Regions from separate parts of the Homo sapiens genome. Here region 2 is linked to region 1. Evidence: promoter capture Hi-C in 16 types of primary human blood cells and fetal thymus (Javierre and others, 2016). All regions are on one chromosome and are shown on one strand. The core of a region is centred on a gene start or on the middle of the fragment in contact, and the rest is flanking DNA. Distances in the headings are between cores, read along the strand shown. Region 1 holds the start of CA12 (carbonic anhydrase 12). Region 2 has its middle 6.4 kb from the start of TPM1.

Evidence for each region. Contacts are between HindIII fragments. The CHiCAGO score rates a contact against its expected background, and 5 or more counts as called.
Region 2: a contact is called between a fragment that was not itself captured here and the fragment with the promoter of CA12 in region 1, in 1 of 17 cell types (activated CD4 T cells). The highest score is 6.1, in activated CD4 T cells.

What each region holds. Positions count from the first base shown.
Region 1 is chr15:63,379,664-63,385,007 of GRCh38, forward strand. CA12 (carbonic anhydrase 12) reads right to left here and starts at 2,183. Exons shown (of 11, transcript NM_001218.5): 1 at 1,973-2,183. The coding sequence starts at 2,057. RefSeq lists enhancers at 1,867-2,387, 2,388-2,907. The HindIII fragment of the contact is 7,810 bases long and covers 1-5,344 here.
Region 2 is chr15:63,033,678-63,039,021 of GRCh38, forward strand. No RefSeq gene overlaps it. Among named protein-coding and RNA genes, the nearest start is that of TPM1, 6.4 kb to the right of the region's middle. The HindIII fragment of the contact is 3,792 bases long and covers 1,179-4,970 here.

The DNA of each region.
Region 1 (5,344 bases), core at 933-3,432:
GGAGGGAATGCCCAGAGAAAATGGTATTTACCAAGATCCATATCAGAGGTCCTGGGCCCTGCCTGCTTCCTGTGCTGGGTGCTAGAACTTTCCCTGAGTAACCATCTCCTGGGTAGCCCAAGACTGCCTGGCTCTCCACACCAGGTTTGGGCAGGGCAAGCTCTGCAGAATTCACTGAAATGCCCCCCAAAGCCACGGCAACTAAGAATTCCAAGGGTTTCTCCAGAAGACACTTGACTTCACATTATTATGCTCCCTCCTGGGCCCCTGACATTGTTCTTGAACATTCTCCAATGCTGGAAGTTTAAATGCACCAGGCAGAGAGCAGATCACACTTTGACCCCATTACTCAGCTTAACTCCTCTCCACCTCCAACTTTGGGTTCATGCTGACATTCTACACCTCAGTGATTTTTGCTTTGACCTGTCCTCTAAGGCAGTTAAAAACCCAAGGAAACTGCATGAGAATTTACAGAATAAAAGCTGTGCTCTACCCAGGGGTAGGCAGTCTCCTTCCTCAGAGTGAGGCGAAAGTGGAGTTTTGACTACAAACTTCCCCAGTCCCAACTTGGAGAATTGGGAGAGGAGATAAGGAGGAGGGAAAGGGAGAGGGAAGAGGAAGAGCAGGGAAAGTAGGGAAGAAAGGAAGGGGAGGGAGGGAAGAGAACAGGGAAGGGCAGGAAAAGAGAGAGAAGGGAGGCAGAGCTGCCCCAGAGTGAGAGGAGCAACCAGCTATAGGAAAGAGGGCCAACTAATGGCTGTTTCTCCCTTTGGTCTTGGAGCAACTTAGGACTAAAGAGATTTCCAGGGAAACTTTGGTCTCAGTGCAGCTTTCGTAAAAGGAAACATGTAAAGTTTGTGGTTTTAAAACTTGATTTTCACTTTTACATCGCTCCTTTCTCCCAACTTCTGTTACATCGCTTCTGTTTCTCCCTGACCAGATGAGGGAGATAATATCAAGCACATCATGCCAGCTAGTTGACTGGAATTTAATTAAGAGTTATCCACAGCCTGGCTCCCCTGCCCTTCCCCATGGGCACTGTGACCTCCAAGAGAGGAGGCTCAGAGCTTTTATGCTGCTGAGCAGGACACATTTCCCACCACCACTGCCTCGCCAGGAAGAATCTAGTTTCAGCCAGTAAAATCACTTTCGGTCCAAAATCACTTTCTTATTCCAAAAGATTAATGAACCAGCCTTGGCTGTACACGTGTTAGCTCACTGGCCCGGCGTGAGCCCACAGTTCAGGTCCCCTCTGCCACCTCCTCCTGTCACTCCACGGAGCCTCCATTCAGTCCCTCAGCCTCCAGCCTTTTGGGATTTAGTGTTCTAATTACAATCAGAAATATGCTGTGTGTGTGTGTGTGTGTGTGTGTGTGGTTTGTGTGCGTGCGCGCGTGCGTGTGTGTGTGTACGTGCACACACACGTACATTCAGCATAGTAGAGCCCTCCTGGAGAAAAACAATGATTAAGAATGGGATGCATCATCCCTTTGACTTGTAGGTAAGACTTAATGGTAAAGATCCTCTCCTCCAAAGAAAAGCGCCTACCACTGTCTGCGGGTTCTGCACAGGGGCACAGCAAACCTTTCTCTGTGCTTACCCCAATCAGAATGCCACAGTCATGTCTCTACTTTCTAAACGTGGATCAGGGGAACGCTGTTTTAAATCTTGGCTTTGCATCTCCTCCCTGGTTAGCAAGTTCCCAAGCCACATCTTCAGAGCTGGCGGTGCCCGGGAGTACACGCAAACATTTTAACACCAAATCTGCGCCAAGCGCCACTAGAAAGCAACGTGCTTCCCGACCCAACCTCAGCAAAGGAAAACGGAGCATCCTTTCTTGAGAATCTACTATTTGGTACTACACCTTCCCTGCTCCCCGCAGCAATGATTTTACTTTATCATTGAAGAGCCTTCAGCCCAGGGGCGGCTGAGCGCTCAGGAGTGTTAGGAAAGAAGCAGGCGGAAACTTTACCGTTCACTGGGGCCGGGCTGGAAGGCTGTTCCTTTAAGATCACCAGCAGGAGCACGGCCGCCGCGTGCAGGCTGCGCCGGGGCATCTTCGCGGGCTCCTGCGGGGCGGGCGCGGGCTGTGCCGGGGGCTCCCGGTGGCCGCTCGCTCTCCAGCTGCACACCGGGACCGCGTGCGCGCAGCCTGGGTGCCGTGGCGAGTACGTCCGCCCTTCGCTCTCCTGGCTTCCCCGGGCAGCTTTTATGGAGCAACTCAACGCCAAACACTTGATGTCATCGTGCGGGGAGGGGGTGGGGGAGGAGAACGCCCTGCCCACCGGAGGGCTGGCGCCCCAGATCCTAGGTGAGTTGTAGCCTTGACTTCAGCAGCACTCTGCGGGTCCCCGGCGCTCCTCTGGGCCAGGGCTGACCCAGGAACACAGTTCTCCGAGGAGCTGCTGGCAGGCGTGGGTGAGATCCGCCTGTCTCACATCCAGAAGGGTGCGTCTAGGGATTCCTTCAGTGGCATGCCCTTGGTCTGTCACTGGTCCTGTAACAGCCCAACGAGTTCACCTTGCCCGCTGCTTAGACAGAGCCCATTTATCAAGACAGGGGAGTTGCAATGGAGAAAGTAATTCACGCAGAGCTTGCCGTGCCGGAGACCGGAGGTTTTCGTTCCTTTGTTTGTTTGTTTGAGACGGAGTCTCGCTCTGTTGCCCAGGCCGGAGTGCAATAGCGTGATCTCGGCTCACTGCAACCTCCGCCTCCCGGGTTCAAGCGATTCTCCTGCCTCAGCCTCCCGAGTAGCTGGGATTACAGGCACATGCCACCATGCCCAGATAATTTTTGTATTTTTAGTAGAGGCGGGGTTTCGCCAGTTTAAGGCTGGCCTTAAACTCCCGACCTCAGATAATTCACCTGCCTTGGCTTCCCAAAGTGCTGGGATTACAGGCGCCCACCACCACACCCGGCTAATTTTTCTAATTTTAGTAGAGACGGGGTTTCACCATGTTGGCCAGGCTGGTCTGGAACTCCTGACCTCAAATGATCCACCTACCTTGGCCTCCTAAAGTACTGGGATTCCAGTACTCAAATCAGTCTCCCCAAGCATTCCGGGAGTTGTTTGTTTGTTTGTTTGTTCAGACGGAGTCTCCCTCTGTCGCCCAGGCTGAAATGCAGTGGCATGGTCTTGGCTCACTGCAACCTCTGCCTCACGGGTTCAAGCGATTCTCCTGCCTCAGCCTCCTGGGTAGCTGGGATTACAGGCACGCGCCGCCACACCCAGCTAATTTTTGTATTTTTAGTAGAGACGGGGTTTCACCATGTTGGCCAGGCTGGTCTTGATCTCTTGATCTCGTGATCCACCTAAAGTGCTGGGATTACAGGCGTTGAACCACTGCACCCTGCCTCTGGGAGTTTTTAAAGATAATTTGGCAGATAGGGGCTTGGGACTTGGGGAGTGCTGATTGGTCAGGTTGCAGATGGGATCACAGGGGGGTTGAAGTAACGTTTTCTTGCAGTCTTCTGTTCCTGGGTGGGATCGCAGAACTGGTTGAGCCAGATCACACACGGTCTGAGTGGTGTCAGCTGATCCATCCAGTGCAGGGTCTGCAAAATAGGATGTTAGATTTTACAATAGCGATGTTATCCCCAGCAGCAACTTGGGAAGGTTCAGACTCTTGCAGCCTGACGCCGCAGGACCCCTAAACCATAATTTCTAATGTTGTAACTAATAGATTAATCGTACAAAGGCAGACTGGCACCCAGGCAAGAAGGGGGTCTTTTCGGGAAAGGGCTATTATTGATTTTGTTTCTGAGTCAAACCATAAACTGAATTCCTTTCTAAGGTTAGTTTGGCCTATGCCCAGGAATGAATAAGGACAGCATGAAAGTTAGAAGAAAGACTGAGTCATTTAGGTCTGATCTTTGTCACTGCCATAATTTCCTCAGTTATAATTTTTGCAAAGGCTGTTTCAGCCCTACTCAGAATCCCCCAAGTATAGTGCCATTTGGGCAAAAGCCTCCTTCATGCTTTTTTTTTTTTTTCTTCAGGTGCCTGCCTGGACTTAGCACAGGTTAAGGAACTGGACAAGATAGTTACATTCACATGAGTTTCTGCCAATTGTTCAGTGCATCCTGATTAAGTTCTTACCTTCCAAGTTGAGATGCAAAGAGATGAACTGAGAATAGGAGAACAGCACAGTGGGGTACACATGAAGAGCTTATCACAATTCCCCTTAGTAACGGGTAAGTAGATGGGACTCATGCTGGTTCAATACATCATTCCATCCTCACTAGGAAGCTGGGAGAGAGGGTCCCTCTTTTGGGGTGGCAGCAGAAGAAAGGGACTTACATTATTTACTGAGCACCCGTTGTGTGTCAGGCACTTTTTTGGGGGGCTTAGAACATGATACCCCAAAGTATGGCACCTTGGCATGCTGAGTACTTTGAACTGAAGGAAACTGAAAAGGCCTCAGAAACAAGGTCTCTCTGACCTTCTCCCATCCTCCTGTCTCCTGCCCCTTCTTCTCCCGCTAAGTGAATCATAGAAACCAGAATCCCTCTTCCCCAGGCAGGTCATAGAAAGTAGAGCCCCTCTCCTCCACAGCAAGCCATAAAATCTAGAAACATCACTCTCTCCCCTCTCCCTTCTCCTTTAAAGACCCTCATTCGAGAGGGGTCCTGCCCCATACCCAGGAGAAAGCAATGCTACACAGAGAGGTCAAGAAGAATTGGAACGGACAGGCCTTGCTGGGTTCCCCTCAGTCTATCACTATGAGATCACACCCTTCTCTCCAATCACATTTCTATACGGCCATCCATGTTCTTCATCAAACCTAAGCAGAAACACCGTTCTCCCTGAGTCTTTGGGTCTTCATTTCTGAAGTCTCTTGTGTCACTTGTTGGCCTGTCTTTTGTTATTTGAGTGTCAACTGTGACCTTTATGATGGGGGAGGAAAGGGATCACACCTTTCTGTCCCTACAGGCTGTGCTAGACCTACAGGCTGTGCTAGAGAAACAGGAGTGTTTCTCTAGTCTTGTTAACCTGCTGCCCCAATACCCCCTAAATCTTCCCACTGCTGTTGCCACCACTGTAGTCATTTGTGCTTCTGGCTTCCCTGGGCCCTCCGTGTGTCTCTGCACCGCTGCAGGGGCCAGGCTCGGTTTCCTCCCCGCTCTATGATCCTACTCACTGCTGCCTATGCACACTGCTCAGGTCACATGGGCTGCGGAAGGGTGTCCACCCCAGTTCTGGTACAGGACCCCTGGGTTTGTGACCTGGCCTGTCATGCCCTCTTCTCTTGGCCACAGCAGCCAGACAAGCCCTCTCTGATCTCACATCTGTGCTGACCCTCAGCCTGTGCACACTCTCAGGCCAGCCTTAGTGACCAATGAA
Region 2 (5,344 bases), core at 1,825-4,324, 350 kb before region 1:
GTTTTATGCCTGACAAATAGTAGGCACTGAAAAACAGCTGGGTGTCCCAAAGGAAATTGACTACTTTATTTTTATATTAGTTTTTACTTGCTGTGAGGCTTTGGCTTATGTACACGCCAAAGTGGATTCTTCTTCCTTTAAGAGACTCAGGCAATTATAAACCCTCCAAAATTTTCTGTAATACACTCAAGAATATATTTTTAAATAACAACGAAGGGAAAATAGGAGATTATTAATACTTTATATAATTCACAAATATATTCTACTTTAAAAATTAAACCATAAAGATATAGCTATACTCCTTTTTGAAGACCATATCTGATCCTAGCACCCCTCCTACCTCTTCAAAGGAAGTGAATTCAGTTATCAAATTAACAGTAACTTCCCACATCGGGTGTGTGTGTCTGTGCGTGTGTGTGTGTAATCATACGCATATATGACATATATTGCATATATATAATACATATCGGGCTGGGCGCAGTGGCTCACACCTGTAATCCCAGCACTTTGGGAGGCCGAGGCAGGCAGATAATGAGGTCAAAAGATCGAGACCAACCTGGCCAACATGGTGAAACCCCATCTCTACTAAAAATACAAAAATCAGCTGGGCGTGGTGGTGCACGCCAGTAGTCCCAGCTACTCGGGAGGCTGAGGCAGGAGAATCACTTGAACCCAGGAGGCGGAGGTTGCAGTGAGCTGAGATCGCACCACTGCACTCCAGCCTGGAGATAGAATGAGACTCCATCTCAAAAAATAAATAAAATAAAAAATATTTTAAAAAATACATATCATTTTTAACTAAGTTATATTACCATATGTTTGATTTTACTGCTTATATTTTTTGCCCAACTAAAGCAAAACTGATCATGGTGACAAAATCCATTTCAATATATAAGTTCTGATTTCCTTCCTTTTAAAATAAACTCTTGATTTCATACCAGGCCTTCCACAGTGTTTGGGAGAATTTAGAGTTGCCAGAGAAATTAGCAGAGGCACGTAAGAACTTCCACACTGGGTCAGCCCTAGGATTTAGCAGCCCAGCATTGTACATCTGACAGTGATGCCAAGGAATGCTGTGGATGGATGGGCTGATGTCAAACTCCAGGATTAGAGACATCCTAAGACATTCTCATTATCCTTCATGACCCACGGTGCATCTGTCCTCCACAAATGTATCAAGCTTCTTGATAACATATTTCTATTTCCAGCTTGTACCATCTTTATGGACTAATGGGCTCCATGAGTTATATTTGCTAGGAGAGGGGTTTGCCTTCCCTTTACTGTCATCTCATCTGAAACATTTGACCTGCCTTTGTCTCTCACCTTCACCTATTTTCAGGGATATCAAAAGAGGACTTTGCTTTGGGAAAAATATGTGTGGACATGCTTTTGTTGCTTCCATCTGGCAAGGACAGTAGAAAGATTGAAACTGGAAGCCTTGGGGAAGAAGGAACCACAGAACTATAAAATAAAACAGGCAAACAAACAACAGAAAAAGAAACTGTGAGCCAAGGGTAGATGGCTGGCATCAAGGTAGATAGATCCAGTGGTTTTATTCTAACTTCCTCCCAGGGCAGATGTCGCACTTCTCAGCCAGGATCTATAATAGCCCCACAGCTTAGGAAGGAACAAGAAGAGGTAGAAATGAAATGGCTCCCAAAAGAAAAACCTCCCTTGGGTGGTATTTTAGGACATTAGCTCAGGCTGCCTTGTCCTCAGTCATCTCAGTGGCATTTAAGTAGCCCCTTGGGTTACAGATCACGGCAGGTGCTGGGAAGTGAAGAAGGCCATGCTAAAAATACTGGCCTCTTCTGGAACTCTGCCGGCAGCCCTGATGGAGCTCCCTCCTCAAGCAGCAGTACCTCAGCAAAAGAACAGTTTCCTCCGCCTTAAGCAGTAAGAAAAGTCTGGCTCCTTCCTCCACTGAAGTTCCTGAGGTAGAATGGTCCTCAGGACAAAATACTCAGAGAAGCATTTCTATTGAGGAACAGCAATTTCTATCAAAGCAAGAAAACAGGTTCTCTTAAGAACTCAGGGTCCCAGAAGAAAGTGCTAAACCCTGGGGTACAAGGTTTTGCTTTTAGCACACTCATCCTGATGCTGTCATGAGAGGTGAGTAGGAGGAGGTAACGAACTTGTAAGTGCTTTTTAAACTACACATATATAAGAGAATATCACCATTCTTCAGACAGCTAAATTCCCCCACATATAGAGCTTGATTAAACCTACATGTTAACCAATTAAACCTTGGGGAAATGGGTTTTGCTAGTCTGCCAAGAAAGGGTCTTTACAAAACCAAAAGAAAGCCCATTGCTTACTTTTAATAACCTAGGCCCACCCATAGGCCTCTAAATCAAATAACCTCCACTGAGAATTAAGCTGTTAGCACTAGGTCTGGCATAGGTGCAGAAACAAAAGTTTAGAAATCCTAATCTTGAATTTACCTAACACGGCTGCCTCCTAGAGCCTGAGTGGGTTGTAGCGAGACCTCAAGTAGAGGAGAGGCACCTGGGCCATCCGCCTCCATGGGCTTTTTTTTTTTTGCATCGAATTTCATGGTCTGCAAAGTAAGGGTGGGGCTTTACTTGCCATTCAGGAGGTTGCAAAGGTCACCTCCACATATGTTCCTGTTAAGGACATCAGCAGAAACTTGAGAAGCAAGTATAAAAATATAAAAATGAGCAGGTGGCATTCAATAGGAAAAGAATGCAGGGTTTGCTGGGAAGTCATGATTGAAACCAGTCCAAGGCTCCGACGTGGCCTTCAAGGCTCTGGACTGCGAAGTCTGTACAGACGCTTTCGTTTCTGCGCAGGCTGGGTCTTAAGGAGGCACTAGTTGCTGTTTTGCCCCAAATTTTCTCTTCATTTTCCCCCCAAACATACTGCCTGGGTTAACTGGTGGCTCATTCCTTTGCAAACCCAAGGGTTTTAAGGGAATCAAGTGTAGATATCTATTGATTACCCCAAATCTCCATTAAAGCTACTGGGAATAAAATTAACATACTCACCTTTCTATCTTCAAGATGTCCTTATTATCCCTCCTTTGGTCATAAACACAAGAGTGGAAAAAGATTTTGGTGGCTTAACAACATTTTCTCACTAGGTTCTCCCATCACTGAGAGTGGGTGGGAGGGTTTAGGAGCCCAGGCTTCTGTTGTGAGCTGGCCCATGCAGGTCAGGGCAACCCTTCAATCTTAGCCTCATTAGTATCATGTTTTAACCACGTTCTGCGTGTAGAAACGACCTTAGCGACCCCCCCCTTCCCCTTATAATGTATTGCTTTTAAATATGAAATAAGGCCAGGCGCGGTGGCTCACGGCTGTAATCCCAGCACTTTGGGAGGCCCAGGTGGGCAGATCACCTGAGGTGAGGAGTTCGAGACCAGCCTGGCCAACATGGTAAAACCCCATCTCTACTAAAAATACAAAAATTAGCTGGGTGTGGCGGCGCATGCCTGTAATCCCAGCTACTCGGGAGGCTGAGGCAGGAGAATCGCTTGAACCCGGGAGGTGGAGGTTGCAGTGAGCGGAGATAGTGCCACTGCACTCCCGCCTAGGCAACAGAGCAAGACGCCGTCTCAAAAATAATAATAATAAAAATAACATAAAATAAATATGAAATCAAACTGAACCTAAAAACAGGCTGGGAATGAATGAATGAAAAGGGCATTGTTACTGAGAGTTCAGATATCTGCATTTTTGTTCCTGCACTGCCACCTCCCAGCTGAGTGGTCTTGAACCAGTTACTGCCCTTGGTGTGTGTGGTTTTGTTTTGGTTTAGGTTTTTTTTCTTTTCAAGACAGGATCTCATTCTGTCACCCAGGCTAGAGTACAGTGGCACACTCACTGCAACCTCAAACTCCTGGGTTCAAGCGATCCTCCTGCCTCAGGCTGCCGAGTAGCTGGGACCGCAGGTGTGAATTACCATGCCCCGCTAATTTTTAAAGTTTTTTGGAGAGATGGGGGGAAGCTCTACAAATTTGCCCAGGCTGGTTTTGACCTCCTGGCTTCAAGTGATCCTCCTGCTTTGGCCTCCCAAAGTGCTGGGATTACAAGCATGAGCCACTGTGCTCGGCCTGGTTTTCTCATGTACAGAGTGAAAATCAGAGAACTCATCCTGATGCTGTCATAAGAGGTTGGGAGGAGGAGGTAATGAACTTGAAAGTGCTTTATAAACTATACAAACATGAAGGAATATCGCCTTTCTTAAGACAGCTAAATCTGCCACACTTGGAGCTTGATTAAATCTACACTGAGTTGCTACTGTTGAGAGACAGACAATAAGAGGTAAGGCAGGAAAACTCCTATGCCTTTTTTTTTTTGTACTGGGACAATCATTTTGCCCATGCAAACATTCCAGGTAATAAGCGTGCTCAAGGGCCTCTCCAAAGAATCAGGACCAGCTGTGTGTTACTAAACAATAAAGGCAGGCACGCCTTGAAAATGGCCTAAAGACCTTTCTCAGAGATCCAAACCAGCCCCACCCCCCGCCCCCAGGAAGCATAGCATATTTTCTGTGAGGCCTTGATGGTAGCATCACAAACCCTTGGGAAACACAACTCCCAGTGTTTGAGGAGAGCATGCCGTATCTTGTTCCAGGGACACTGAGTCGTGAGCATAAAACGCTGCATTCCAAAAGAGACGAAGAAGCAGTCGTCTCTCCATTTAATTATAGATTCTTCACTTTCCCTTAATTGCTTCAGTCAGCACTGTTGACTCTGGGGGAGTCACAGTACACCGGCAGGGCTATTGCTGTTAAACAAGGGGTGACTATCAGGTAATGAGGTTTTCATTTTGTTTTTTCAAACAAACAAACCCTGATGTACATATTCAAGTGGGCATTCCTGTTAAAGGTGTCACATTGGGAAATGATGCTCATGTTGACTCTCCTTTGTAACCAAATATTGATAAATGTAGTATGACACATACAAGTGTTTTATGGAAGGAAAAAGGCAGCATATTTAATATTAAAGCTTTCCTAGAAAACCCGAGATATGTGATCCTCATAACTATAGAGGGCCCCAGGTGACCAACTGAGCTGATGGTCATGCCATGGGAAATACATATTAAATGACTCCCAAAGAGAGGGTTCTCCCTGCATCATACATAGACACTTTTCCTACAGAAAAAGATCCATGTCTTTTGTCTGCTTCCCTGGATCCCATAAGCCCTAAATGTCTTGCACACAAAAGGTGTCCAATAAATATTTGGAGACATTTGTCTTACCCTATCACAATACTTATATTCATTCTTCATGAAATAAGACACAGAGCCCATATTTTGAATGGAAACAAGATCTTTTGAACCTAGATTTGTTACTTTACCTTCCCAGACTTTCTTGTAAG